2 separate regions of the Homo sapiens genome follow, and region 2 is linked to region 1. The links are contacts of gene promoters, found by promoter capture Hi-C in human tissues and cell types (Jung and others, 2019). All regions are on one chromosome and are shown on one strand. The core of a region is centred on a gene start or on the middle of the fragment in contact, and the rest is flanking DNA. Distances in the headings are between cores, read along the strand shown.

Region 1 (6,582 bases), core at 370-2,869:
GAGCCCAGATCGCGCCACTGCACTCCAGCCTGGGCGATAGAGCGAGACTCTGTCTCAAAAGAAAAAAAAAAAAAATTAGCCAGGCATGTAGTACCAGCTACAGTGTGCCTGTAATCCCAGCCACTCGGGAGGCTGAGGCAGGAGAATCACTTGAACCCGGGAGGTAGAGGTTGCAGTGAGCCGAGATCATGCCACTGCACTCCAGCCTGGGTGACTGAGCGAGACTGTGTCTCAAAAAAAGAAGGCATGTATCCAAATCACAAGGTTAAAAGAGATAAAGCATGCGAGTAAAATAAAGCAAGCCAGTCAGTGTGGGTTGCTTCTTCCTCCCAGTGAAGGAGCTCTTTGTCAGAGGTCCTTGGATCTGTCCAATCTGTACCTGGAAAGGTTATTACCTGTAGGATCCTTACAGCCACACCTGGCACACTCTGTGATCACTACCACCATCTTTGTTGCTATTATTTATGATCATGATTATACAATGGGTTTCTTTTCTTTCTTTCTTTTTTTTTTTGAGCCACCGCACCCGGCCTGTATGTTTCTAACCTTCACAACCCCAATGTAAATACCAGCTGTTCTGAATCCTTCAGCCTGTGCCACATAAGCACAGACCCAAAAACATTGTGTAACCTCAGATCAAGGTCCAGAACTTTGTCCCCTAACCTCCTGCGGGTCTATGGATTTTTTTTTTTTTTTTTTTTTTTTTTTTTGAGACTAAGTCTTGGTCTATCGCCCAGCCTTCCAGGCTGGAGTACAAATGGCATGATCTCGGCTCACTGCAACCTCCACCTCCTGGGTTCAAGCGATTCTCCTGTCTCAGCCTCCCCAGTAGCTGGGATTACAGAGGTACATCACCACGCCCGGCTAATTTTTGTATTTTTAGTAGAAACGGGGTTTCACCATGTTGGCCAGGCTGGTCTCGAACTCCTGACCTCGTGATCCGCCAAAAGTGCTAGGATTACAGGTGTGAGCCGCCACGCCTGGCAGGGTCTACGGATATTATTAGCATAGTCAGGACTTCAATTTTCTTTATCCTGAAAACCAGGTTAACAAAAATCCTTAGGAGAAGGTAAAATACACCATGGTGCTCAAGCACTGGGGACCTGGCACGCACTAGGCGCTCTGCATGCCCACAGGAGTGCTCTAGACGGCTTCTAAGCTTCCTTCTTGGAATTCCAATCTAATAAATGAGCTAACTCCGCCCCAGCCCCTTAGTCCCTCCCTGCAATCCACCTACCTCTGCAGACATCTTCTTCCAAGGAACCTTGCTTGGGAAACCCACACCAGACACATCCATCATGGCGTCTACAGCCGCATGGGCGTGCGTCCCTCTGTTTATATGGCCAGAGCCCCGCCTCGCTCCGCCCCTTTAAACTTGGTGGGCGGACCGAGGCGGGGCTCAGACCAGGCCCCACCCCGATCAGCCACGTCCATCGCCCTGATTTCCAGGCCCTCCCAGTCCCTGGGCGCACGTCCCGGATTCCTCCCACGAGGGGGCGGGCTGCGGCCAAATCTCCCGCCAGGTCAGCGGCCGGGCGCTGATTGGCCCCATGGCGGCGGGGCCGGCTCGTGATTGGCCAGCACGCCGTGGTTTAAAGCGGTCGGCGCGGGAACCAGGGGCTTACTGCGGGACGGCCTTGGAGAGTACTCGGGTTCGTGAACTTCCCGGAGGCGCAATGAGCTGCATTAACCTGCCCACTGTGCTGCCTGGCTCCCCCAGCAAGACCCGGGGGCAGATCCAGGTGCGGGGGCCAGCCCTGCGCGTGGCTGGGGATGAGGTGGTCGTGGTGATAGCCTGTGTCCAGGCATCCGCGCAGGGCGGGCCCTCAAATGACCTCACCTTCTCTCCTAGGTGATTCTCGGGCCGATGTTCTCAGGAAAAAGGTAATGGCTTCGCGGGGCTGGGGTGGAGCTCCTTCCTCTTCTCCGGGGACCCCTTGTCCCGTCCCTCCCCTCCCCTTCCCTCCCCTCCCCTCCCCTCCCCTTCCCTTCCCTCCCCTTCCCTTCCCCTAGAAGGACCAGCACAGCCTCCTACAGCTCCCGCCTGGGGTGCTCCTCCCTTGAATTCAGTCCAGGAGGAAGTCTCTGCCCTCTTCTGCCCAGGCCAAGCCCCTCGTCCTGTGTGGACGCCACTCCCTCCTGGAGCTGGTGACAGCTGCTTACAGCTTAGCTGTCTTCCCCACCAAGTCCTCTGAGAAGGTGGCAACCAGTTGTGTCCCCTGTAGGCCAGGCCTTTTTGTACACCCCTATTCAATGTGGCTGTTTCCTTCTAAGGCCAAGGAAACGTAGTCGCTTTCTAAACCAAGGAGTCTGAAGCCGTGGAGCCTCTGCTCTCCTGAGGTGATAGAACCATTCCCTGACCCGGGTGGGGCTAGTGAGTTTCTTGAGTAAACTACCCACGCACCATTCTTTTTGTTTTGTTTTTGTTCTTCTAGAGGTAGGATCTTGCTATGTTGCCCAGGCTGGTCTCAAACTCCTGGGCTCAAGCAATTCTCTCACCTCAGCCTCCCAAGTAGCTGGGACTACAGGCGTGCACCCCCCCGCCTCCACCCAGCTAATTTTATTTTATTTTTATAGAGCTGGGGTCTTGCTATGTTGCCCAAGCTGGTCTTGAACTCCTGGTCTCAAGCAATCCTCCTACTTCAGCATCCCAAAGTGCTGGGATTACAGATGTTAGCCACCATGCCCTGCCCCAACATTCTTTTATGGCCCTGGGGATCACTTCAGCTCAAACCCCTTGCTCAGGAAGATGTGGCTCAGAGTTGGACTTCTTGGACCCAGAAGCAAGTGCTTTTGACGCTGCACACAAAGACTTTCTGAAATTAATTTAGAAAAGCTGTATGCCAGGTGTGGTGGCCCACGCCTTTAATCCCAGCGCTTTGGAAGGCTGAGGTGCGTTGATCACTTGAGGTTAGGAGTTTGAGACCACCCTGGTCAACGTGGTAAAACCCCATCTCTACTGAAAAAAAAAACCAAAAATTATCTGGGCATGGTGGCAGCCTCCTGTAATCCCAGCTACTCGGGAGGTTGAGGCAGGAGAATCTCTTGAACCCGGAAGGCAGGGGTTGCAGTGAGCTGAGATCGCTCCACTGCACTCTAACCTAGGCAACAGAGCGAGACTCCACCCCAAAAAGAAAGAAAGAAAAACTCTGAACTCTGGGAACAACTCTGGGATGAGGTTACTTTGGAATGCAGTCGCAGGTTCCCTCTACATGTAGCCTTTGCTTCTGCCTTCCCCACTACATCTTGGAGAAGGTTACTCCTCCCACACTTCCTGGGACCACCTGAGTACCATTCCTGGACCTCTTCCCCATAGAGAATTCTGACTTCCAACCCTCTTTGTAGGGATATTATACCCTGCCTGCTCTGCCCTGCTCTTTTCTGGCTGTGGTGGGCTCAGTCTGCATACCACTAGGGACAATGAGGAGCCAGGCTTGTTGGGGAGGGGTCTCCTTCTCCCACTCCTCCCGCCGTGGACCTCACCTGACCCTCTCTCCTCTTGCAGCACAGAGTTGATGAGACGCGTCCGTCGCTTCCAGATTGCTCAGTACAAGTGCCTGGTGATCAAGTATGCCAAAGACACTCGCTACAGCAGCAGCTTCTGCACACATGACCGGTCAGTCCCTGCCCCCTGCAGTCCTGTCCAGTGGAAAATCACAAGGCACAGGACACACTGTTAGGACTCTCTTTAATGGGGATGGTTAATCATTTGAACATTGAATGATTCAAATCAGCACACTTTCCAAGGTGCTTGGCAAGGTAGCGCACACTCTCCACTCCCTGGGCTGGAGCCAGTGGTTCTCCACTGAGGGTGATTTTGCCGCCAGGGTCCATTTGACAATGTTTGAAGACATTTCTAGTTGTTGCAACTGGAGGGGGGAGGGGATGCTTTTGGGCTTTAATGTGTAGAAATCAGGGACACTGCTGCTAAGGGTCCTATGGTGCAGAGGACGGCCCCCATGCAAGAACGAGCTGGCCCCAAATGTCAGGAGCCTGCCAGTGTTCAGAAACTCTGCCGTAGGGTTTCAGCTTCACACAGGCTGCAGACTGGTTTGGTTTGGCCTGCACGTTGATTTTTGTTTAATTTTTTAGTTGTCCGTTGTTGGCTGGCTCCCCCGTCACCTGGCAGCCTTCACGCTTCCCTGTTTTATGTGTAGCTGTTTGAGCTCGCTGGACATTTCCGCCTGCAACCTCAGTTTGGGAGTTAAATTCACTTCCTTGGCAGCAGATGTGGGCCTGATGTTTCTGAGCCTGAGACGCTTTGCTTGGTCCTCTGGACTTGTCCACCTGGGCACCCAGTGGCAAAGCCATGCTGTGCCACACATTATAGGGCTTCAGCCTCAGAGCCCTGGCTGGGAGCTGTATCCGAGAGTTGCTATGGCTGTGCAGAGAACAGATCCACCCGGCGTGTGGCCTTCGGTGGGAGCTGAGGGGCTCCTGAAGCCAGATGCTGGTGGAGTGGAGGGTGCTTGGGGCTTGGAGTTGCATGTGGGAATTTAACCGCACTTCGTGACCATGCTGTCTGATGTAGGTCATTTACTTTTCCAAATTTGCTTCCTCATTCCTAAGATGCGATGTCCACGGCACAGGGTGGTGTTACACCTGGTGGGGACAGGGAAAGCAGAGGAGGTCACTTCGTTCCAGCTGTTGGAAGTACAACTTCTGGAGTCAGTCAGATCCGGGATTAAATATGAGTTCTGCCCGTGTGTCACAAGTCATCTCTAACACGGGCCACAGAGGCCAAGGCTGGGCCAGCAGCATTGATGGCTCGAGAGGCTGCCCTTGCAGGGGCCACAGCTGGCCTCCCACCTGCCCTCACTTTGTCTTTCTCTGTTTAGGGAGGGAAGAGGGAATTTAAAATGCCCAAAATACTGTTTCACACATTCTTTCCAGAACTCGAAGTAGGATTATAGCAAGGTAATAACGAAACAATAGTTGTAAAGTATGTTTTTTTGTTTGTTTGTTGTTTGTTTTTGGGACAGGGTCTCTCTCTGTCACCCAGGCTGGAGTGCAGTGGCTCAATCATAGCTTACTGTTACGTGACCCCAAACCCTTGGGCTCAAGTGATCGTCCCACCTCAGCCCCCTGAGCAGGTGGGACTACAGGCGCACACCACCACACCCAGTTAATTTTTACATTTTTTTCACACAGTGTCTCGCTGTGTTACCCAGGCTGGTCTCGAACTCCTGAGTTCAAGTGATCCTCCCGTCTTGGCCTCCCCAAAGATTACGGGCATGAGCTGCTGTGTCTGGCCAGAATACAGGATTTTAAAAATTTATGTTTTGCAACATAATTAATATAAAGACAAATATAACCCAGGCCCAGTTCTAGTTATTCATTCTTCTGAATTTTAAAAGGAAACATTTGGCTGGCCCCTAATGGTATCATGGGCCCTGGTACCTGATGAAGTTGGCCTAGTCTGCCCCCAGCTCCTGAACAGTGGAAGAGTTTTTAGTCTCATTGAGCTTTGTACTGGACATTACTAATTTCTAATCCAAAGCATCAAGTGAAGTGGCTTGTATAAATAACTGGTTTTCCTCTGGGAGGCTAAGGCGGGTGGATCACTTAAAAGTTAGGAGTCTGAGACCAGCCTGGCCAACATGGTGAAACCCCATGTCTGCTAAAAATACAAAAATTAGCTGGGTGTGATGGTGTGTGCCAGTAGTCCCAGCTACTCTTGTGGCTGAGGTGGGAGAATCGCTTGAGACCCTTGAGAATTGGGAGGTAGAGATTGCAGGGAGCCGAGATGGCGCCACTGCACTCCAGCCTGGGTGACAGAGCAAGACTCTGTTTCATAAAAAATAAATAAATAACTGGTTTTCTGGACGAGGGCCTTTCCCATAGGTGCTAACTTCTCAAAGCCCGGCTGGGTGAACACTGAGCCTGCTTTGCAGGTAGCAGGTGGTCACGACAGTGCCATTCCCTGGCCCCTGCATTGTGGCTTCTGGCCTCCCTGGCCCTGCTCACGCTCTGGCTTTCTCTTCCCAGGAACACCATGGAGGCACTGCCCGCCTGCCTGCTCCGAGACGTGGCCCAGGAGGCCCTGGGCGTGGCTGTCATAGGCATCGACGAGGGGCAGTTTGTAAGTTGGCTTGTCTTGGCATCACTCTTCCTGCCAGCTTCCGCTCTGTCCTCCCGTTTTCCCTCGCTGACTTGGAAGTTATCTGATCTTTTAGTAAAATAACAAGGTTAAATAGCTACAACTAGTGTTGGAATACCCTCTGAAGGCCCCTTTCTAGTTTCCCTGTCATAGTGTCATAGTCTTGTAGGATTCGTTTTACTTTTTTTTTTTTTTTTTTGAGACGGAGTTTTGCTCTTGTTGCCCAGGCCGGAGTACGATGGCACAATCTCACCGCAAACTTTGCTTCCTGGGTTCAAGCAATTCTCTCCTGTCTCAGCCTCCCGAGTAGCTGGGATTACAGGCATGCGCCACCACGCCCAGCTAATTTTATATTTTTAGTAGAGATGGGGTTTCTCCATGTTGGTCAAGCTGGTCTCAAACTCCCAACCTCAGGTGATCCGCCCCGCCTTGAACTCCCAAAGCGCTGGGATTACAGGCATGAGCTACCACACCTGGCCATT
Region 2 (6,912 bases), core at 2,957-5,456, 660 kb after region 1:
CTGATAATGACATACCGGAGACTGGGAAGAAAAAGAGGTTTGATGGACTTATACTTCCACATGGCTGGGGAGGCCTCACAGTCATGGTGGATGGCAAGGAGGAGCAAGTCATGTCTTACATGGATGGCTCAGGCAAAGAGAGAGGTTGTGCAGGGAAACTCCCCCTTATAAAACCATCAGATCTCACGATACTTATTCACTATCATGAAAACAGCATGGGAAAATCCCACCCCCATGATTCAATTACCTCCCACCGGGTCCCTCCCATAACACATGGGAATTCAAGATGAGATTTGGGTGGGGACACAGCCAAACCATATCACACGTCCATGCCCAAGCATGGAGGGCCAGGAAGTGCAGGGTATACACACAGTGGATGGGTATGTTTCTTGGTACACAACTCTGACTCTTTATATATAGCATTTCCTGGACCCTTTTTGAGGACCTCAGATCATCCCTGGCATTTTGGGCCCATTGTCTGGCTTCATGTCTTTTTTTTTTTTTTTTTTTGAGATGGAGTCTCACTCTTGTTGCCCAGGCTGGAGTGCCTGGAGTGCAGTGGCGCAATCTCCACTCCACTCACCACAACCTCCGCCTCCCAGGTTCAAGCGATTCTTCTGCCTCAGCCTCCTGGGTAATACCAGCACTTTGGGAGGCCGAGGCAGGTGGACCACCTGAGGTCAAGAGTTTGAGACCAGCCTGGCCAACATGGTGAAACCCTCGTCTCTACTAAAAATACAAACATTAGCCGGGCATGGTGGCAGGCACCTGTAATCCTAGCTACTCAGGAGGCTGAGGCAGGAGAATTGCTTGAACCTGGGAGGCGAAAGTTTCAGTGAGCCAAGATCGTGCCACTGCACTCCAGCCTGGGCAACAGAGTGTGACTCCATCTCACAACATAAATAAAAATAAATAAATAAATTGAAAAGTCTAATTAAGAAGTAAAACTTCTTTTACTTCTAAAATTTCTTTTCTGCCTGCTTTTGCTAGTAGGAAATTTTTTTCTGTTTCCTCCGAGTTCAGGAGAGGAAACCCTGTTCTTCTCACAATTACTCTGCGTGAGAAAACCCAGGTAAAAAGAACCAACAGCACCGCCCCTGAGCCCCTCCCTTACCCACCCCCCCAGCTGAGCTTGCAAAGGAGGAAAGCATGTTGTGTGTGGCTGCAGCCATTTAAAATGCAGGCGGGGCTGGGTGCAGCAGCTCATACCTGTAATCCCAGCACTTTGAGAGGCTGTGTTGGGCGAATCATCTTGAGTTCAAGACCAGCCTGGCCAATATGGTGAAACCCCATCTCTGCTAAAAATACAAACATTAGCCGGATGTGGTGGTGCATGCCTGTAGTCCCAGCTACTCGGGAGGCTGAGGCCAGAGAATCACTTAAACCAGGGAGGTGGAGGTTGCAGTGGACTGACATTGAGCCACTGCACCCCAGCCTGGGTGACAGAGCAGGACCCTGTCTCAAAAATCAATCAATCAATCAACAAAATGCAGGAGGGAGTCACTGTTTCAAGGTGTCCTGTGGATATCCTGGCCTACTTGGGAAGCAGAATTGGTCTGGACATTTTTCTGGAGCAAAACTTCTTGACACCTGTAGCAATAGTGTCTCCCTAGACATATGACCTGACTGGTAAATGGCTTCATGTCCCAAAGTTTCCAACGTGGAATTTTTTCAGAAGGGCACCAGGAAATGTGTAAGACATAAAAATCACAAGCAAAAAAACAACAAAAATAAAAATCACAAGCATTCGACCTGAGCCACGTTGCTGAACTTCTCTGTGCCCATCTCCTCATCTGTAAAATGGGACAGTAAGACGTTTGGCTTCTTTCCTTCCCTACAATAAGTGTTGATGGGGGGCGACTATGCCGGGGATAGTCACACGCTCCCCAAAGGCCCTCTCCAGAGCTCTATCAGCAAGGATGTGGAGGGAGGACCCCGCGATATACTCTAAGGGCAGAAGATTCCTGACTGCTCTGGCAATCTGAAGGAAGGCAAGGGCAGTCCTGGTTGTTGGCATCATCACAAAACCTTCTGTGAGCAAAGGAAGAGAGGACCCATTCAGGACCCATTAAGTCCTGACTGTGCCATGGAAGAGACATCTTCTGGGTGGACACTGATGTTCAGTGGCCTCCAGGGGACTTGGCAGGTCCCCTTGACACACTGGAGGCTCCCTAGCTAAAGTCCCCTCCCAGACACCCTCATTCCTGTATCTCCAGGACTGGAGAGGCCTACTGGCCATCCAGGAGGATGTTTCTGTTGTCGGGCAGAGAGAAGTGAATTTTAGACCTTGCCTCCTGCCCACCTCCACCCTACAGCTCAAGAATATGACAATTTCCAGGACTGTGAGGACCAACTGAGACCACGTGATTTTGCAAGACATGGACGCAGCTGTGAGTCTGAGTTACTATCCCAACTATCGTCACCACCATTGTCTCTGCCGTCACCCTGTGAATGTGCCAAGGTCACTACCAGCACCTGGGTCCCCTCCAAGCTCCTGCAAGGGCAGTTTGTGGTGATGAAGACGATGTTAACTCCACACTGTCTCTGCTCTGACAACACACAGTGTCTGTAAGCTTGCTGGCCACAGTGGATCTGTGCTGCCCGACATGGCCATCTTGGCACGAACACAGTGAGTTACTAAACGGTCTCCTTGTTGAGATACCTACCAACTGTGGCAGGTGAAGCTTTCCCATCCTCTGCATGGGGCTGACCATCTGCCCGACAACAGAAACATCCTCCTGGATGGCCAGCAGGCCTCTCCAGTCCTGGAGATACAGGAATGAGGGTGTCTGGGAGGGGAATCTAGCCAGGGAGCCTCCAGTGTGTCAAGGGGACCCGCCAAGTCCCCTGGAGGCCACTGAACATCAGTGTCCGCCCAGAAGATGCCTCTTCCATGGCAGAGTCAGGACTTAGTGATCAAAACTGCCCAGGCCCCAGGAGGAGTTAGGCTGGGGTGTGGCACACAGGCCTGTACCCTCCCTAGTGACCACAAGGATGGCAGGGGCCACATCCTTTGACCCCACACAGGGAGACCTTATCGGCAAGTGGGTTACTGTTGAAAAACACTGCCACGGGCCAGGGCATCCATGGCTTCCAAATGCTCAAAACTGCTTCCGATCATCTTGGAAAATTGTCCAATTTTTGAACGATGGGGGTGGGGATAGGCAGGAAACAGGGTCTGAAATTTATTTCTCTGTCTTTTATTGGAATAACTTAATCCCTGCTAGTAGTTAAATATGAGAGTGATGTGACGTTATCATAAAAGTAAACACACAATTACAGTAGGGGGTAGGTGTAAAACAAAACAACACCCGAGCTGATTATTTACCCAACCAACTGGAAACACATGAGCAAAACCATCCTGCCCTGACAGGTGAGCACATTCATAATTGCTTTTAAACATGTACTTAAATGTTGATCTGTTGTGTAAATACCTTTTTAAACGAGTACGATTTAAGACAATGTAACTGTTACAGGGGCAGGGGGCGTGGGGCAGGAGAATGACTAAGGAGACCAACTTGAATTCCAGCACTCACCTCTGTGGTCCACGTCCCCTCATATCAGAGCAGGTGTTTTCATAGACCTGGCGGCTATCTTTGGGCATACATTTTGGATTCATTTGGTTCAACAGACCCTGTATTTGTTGTCGAGGGCTGCCACGGCAAGCCACTGCGGTCAGAGTGCCTTCAACAGGAACGCATCACCGCGCAGTTCTGGAGGCTGAAGTCTGAGATCAAGGTGTCTCGGCAGGGTTGGTTTCTTCTGAGGCCTCTCTCCCGACCTTATAGAACAGGGGTCCTCAACCCCTGGGCCAAGGACCAGTACCGGTCTGTGGCCCTTTAGGAACCATTGGATGTGCACAAGAGCATGAAACCTGTTGTGAACGGCACATGTGAGGGATCTAGGTTGCGTGCTTCTTATGAGAATCCAAGGCCTGATGATCTGTCACTGTCTCCCATCACCCCCAGATGGGACCATCTAGTTGCAGGAAAACAAGCTCAGGGTCCCTCTGATTCTACATTATGATGAAATGTATAATTATTTCATTATATATTACAATGTAATAACAACAGAAATAAAGTGCACGATCAATGTAACGTGCTTGCATCACCTCGAAACCACCCCCCACCCCACCCGGGTCCGTGGAAAAATTGCCTTCCACGAAACCAGTCCCTGGTGCCAAAAAGGTTGGGGACTGAGGTTATAGAAGGTCATAGAAGGCTGTATCTCCAAATACAATCATATCCTGAGATACTGGGGCTTCGGGATTTATTTTATTTTTATTTTATTTATCTATTTTTTTGAGACAGAGTGTCGCTGTTGTCCCCCAGGTTGGAATGCAATGGCGCGATCTCAGCTCACCGCAACCTCTGCTTCCCGGGTTCAAGTGATTCTCCAGCCTCAGCTTCTGGAGTAGCTGGGATTACAGGCAGCCACCACCACTCCCCGCTGATTTTTGTATTTTTAGTAGAGACGGGGTTTCACCATGTTGGCCAGGCTGGTCTCGAAATTCTGACCTCAGGTGATCGCCCCCAACTCGGCCTCCCAAAGTGCTGAGATTACAGGTGCTCGCCACCACGCCCAGCCAGGGGCTTAGGGATTTAATATATGGATTTGGGGAGGACACAATTTAGACCATAACAGATTACTTCCGCAAAAGCCAAAACCCACGTTACACAGGGAAGGAAAGGGTTGACTGAGAACCCAAGTCAGGTAGGGCCTAAAGCCCTGCGGGAAGGACACCTGGTTCTAGGTACTGGCTTTATCTTTAAGGATAAAGACCCTAAAGGTGATTTTAAAGTAATAAATAAACACTTCCAAGGCACAGAGAACATCCCAGAAAGTTCCAGACATGTAGGACTATCCTGATAAGAGAAGCAAGAAAGTGATTTCCAGGGTCAATGTTGGAGACACTAGAAGGGGGCAGAAGGCATTGGGGGAGAAGGCAGCCCCTCTGCAGGGCCTGGCAAGCAGGGGATATGCCCACTGCTCCTGCCTGTGCACCCGGTGGGCAGCCCCTCGGCGGGCTCATTAACTGCCATCCTCAGCACTGAGGGACCCGTTCCCGGTCAGGGAGCAGAACCGGCTCTTCCCCAGGGGGATGCAGGCAGGAGGCCAGCGCTTACCTGACTGACAGGTGTCAGGTCAAATCACCAGGTCTCCTGAAAATATCAGCCTCGCCTCCTGCCGGGCCACGCCAGCCAGGGATAGAGAGACAGACAGCTCCCCTAATGATGCCAGACAGACCTTCTGACAGCTCTGCCCTCCCGGGCCCCCGGAACAGCCAGCGCGGAGTGCTCTGCTCCAGGAGGGGTGGGGACCCTGGCTTTCCTGCCCTGCCCAGCCCAGCCCAGCCAAGCAGCAGAGAGAACAGGACGGAGGCTCCCATTTCCCAGGGACTGCAGCGCCTCCAAACCGCCCATCTGCGACGGCCCCGCGAGCGTGCGCAGCCCAGCCCCTCCCGGACGTCCTCGCCCCCGCCCGGGCACATCGTGCTCCGCACCGAGGCAGAGAGGGGCACGCGGATCCCAGCCCCTGCGAGCCCCTCTGCCCGCCGCCACTTCACACCCCGCATTGCCTCAGCTGCCGTTCCAGAAGATGCATCGTCTGGCGCGCAAAGCGGTGCACGGTCCCCAGCCCGCGCGCAGCAGCCTGGAGGGGCGCCAGAGTCCCCGTCCCACTTCCTGGCGGCACTGCCCCCGGGCAGCTCCCTCCTCCCCTCTCTCCCTCCATGCCCCCACCCCATCTTGGGACGCTTCCAGGACCGAAGAGGCAGGAGGGGGATCGCGAGGGGAAGGCGCGGAGCTGGGGAAGGAGGAGCAGCGCCGGGCGCAGCAGCTCAGGGCGGTCCGGGAGGCTGCGCGGCGCTCGCGGACCCACGCCCCAGGACAGAGGACGCAGCTCCGAGCATCGCACGTGGCTTCCAGATTCCTCCCACCCCTACCCTGGCGACCACGAGAGGGGGTCGGGGGCATCTTCTTCCCAGCCCCAGCTGGACAAAAAGCCTTGCAAAAGGGAAGAAATTAAAAAGCAGGGGGAGGGAAGGTGAGGAGGGGAGGGGTGGGGGGAGAAGGAAAAAGTCCCTTCCAGCCATAGTGGGTCCCAGAGAGGAACAGAGGGGTGAACATAGGCAGGGTCCTCGGGTTCCCTCCCCACCTGCCTCCTCCCAGGGTATGTGCAGCGGCCTGGCCCATCCGCCTCTGGGGCGACCACGGGACACACCGCATGGCCACTGTCACTCTGAGTCCCCACCTGCCACACACTCATCCGCGACTTCTGGCTCTTTGATCTTCCCTTTACAAAATAGTCGTGCTTTGTTCACGACAGGGTGAAGGCCCCAGGGACGCGTTCTGCATGGAGGATGGCAAGGGGGAGGTTTGGTTGAATCAAGAACCCTTGATCGGCCCCTTGGGTTTCCAGCCCCCAAGAGCGCTCACACAGCCCACGTGTTATGTCCCAGCTCCGAGCAAAACAGCGTGCCAGTGTGGATGCCCCGAACTCAGACGCGGCCCCCTGGACACAGATGGGACTTTCTGTCCAGAAACAACCCAGCCCCCACAACAGCCTGGACGTTACACTGAGTTCATTTCGTTCCAATCAAAGAGCAAAATATATACCGTGAAGGGCCCACCTTTCCTTTTCTCCTTGTTCTATAGGGCGATTAGCATGGAGAAGCCATCACACTGTAGTGGAGGGGAGAGGGTGGCTTAAAAATAAATGGGCTCTGGGAGGGAAGGAGTAACTTGCAATGCCACTCTTGGCACTCTTGGCATTGTGCAGGAAACCCAACCCTCAGCTCTCACCCACACAGAACCCCATCATCTGCTGAGCTTCTGCCACTGCTGAATGTACCCCCGGGAAGAGCTCCGAGCCTCTGCCCTGCTGAATGCACTCCTAGGAGAGGCTCCAGAG

The links. The method cuts DNA at HindIII sites, captures the fragments that hold promoters and counts their contacts. A contact is called where the count stands out against the background at its distance.
Region 2: a fragment that was not itself captured here is called in contact with the fragment with the promoter of TK1 in region 1 in 1 of the 25 tissues and cell types used here (heart right ventricle).

The regions. Positions count from the first base shown.
Region 1 is chr17:78,182,089-78,188,670 of GRCh38, reverse strand. It overlaps TK1 (thymidine kinase 1), which reads left to right and starts at 1,619. Exons shown (of 7, transcript NM_003258.5): 1 at 1,619-1,742; 2 at 1,853-1,884; 3 at 3,506-3,616; 4 at 5,989-6,082. The coding sequence starts at 1,677. It overlaps AFMID (arylformamidase), which reads right to left and starts at 1,309. Exons shown (of 11, transcript NM_001010982.5): 1 at 1,238-1,309. The coding sequence starts at 1,300. RefSeq lists a silencer at 1,327-1,466 and an enhancer at 3,505-4,406. The HindIII fragment of the contact is 12,138 bases long and covers 1-6,582 here.
Region 2 is chr17:77,527,564-77,534,475 of GRCh38, reverse strand. LOC400622 (a long non-coding RNA gene) reads right to left here. Exons shown (of 3, transcript NR_148967.1): 2 at 1-21. Among named protein-coding and RNA genes, the nearest start is that of MIR4316, 130 kb to the right of the region's middle. RefSeq lists enhancers at 5,849-6,349, 6,350-6,850. The HindIII fragment of the contact is 3,153 bases long and covers 2,630-5,782 here.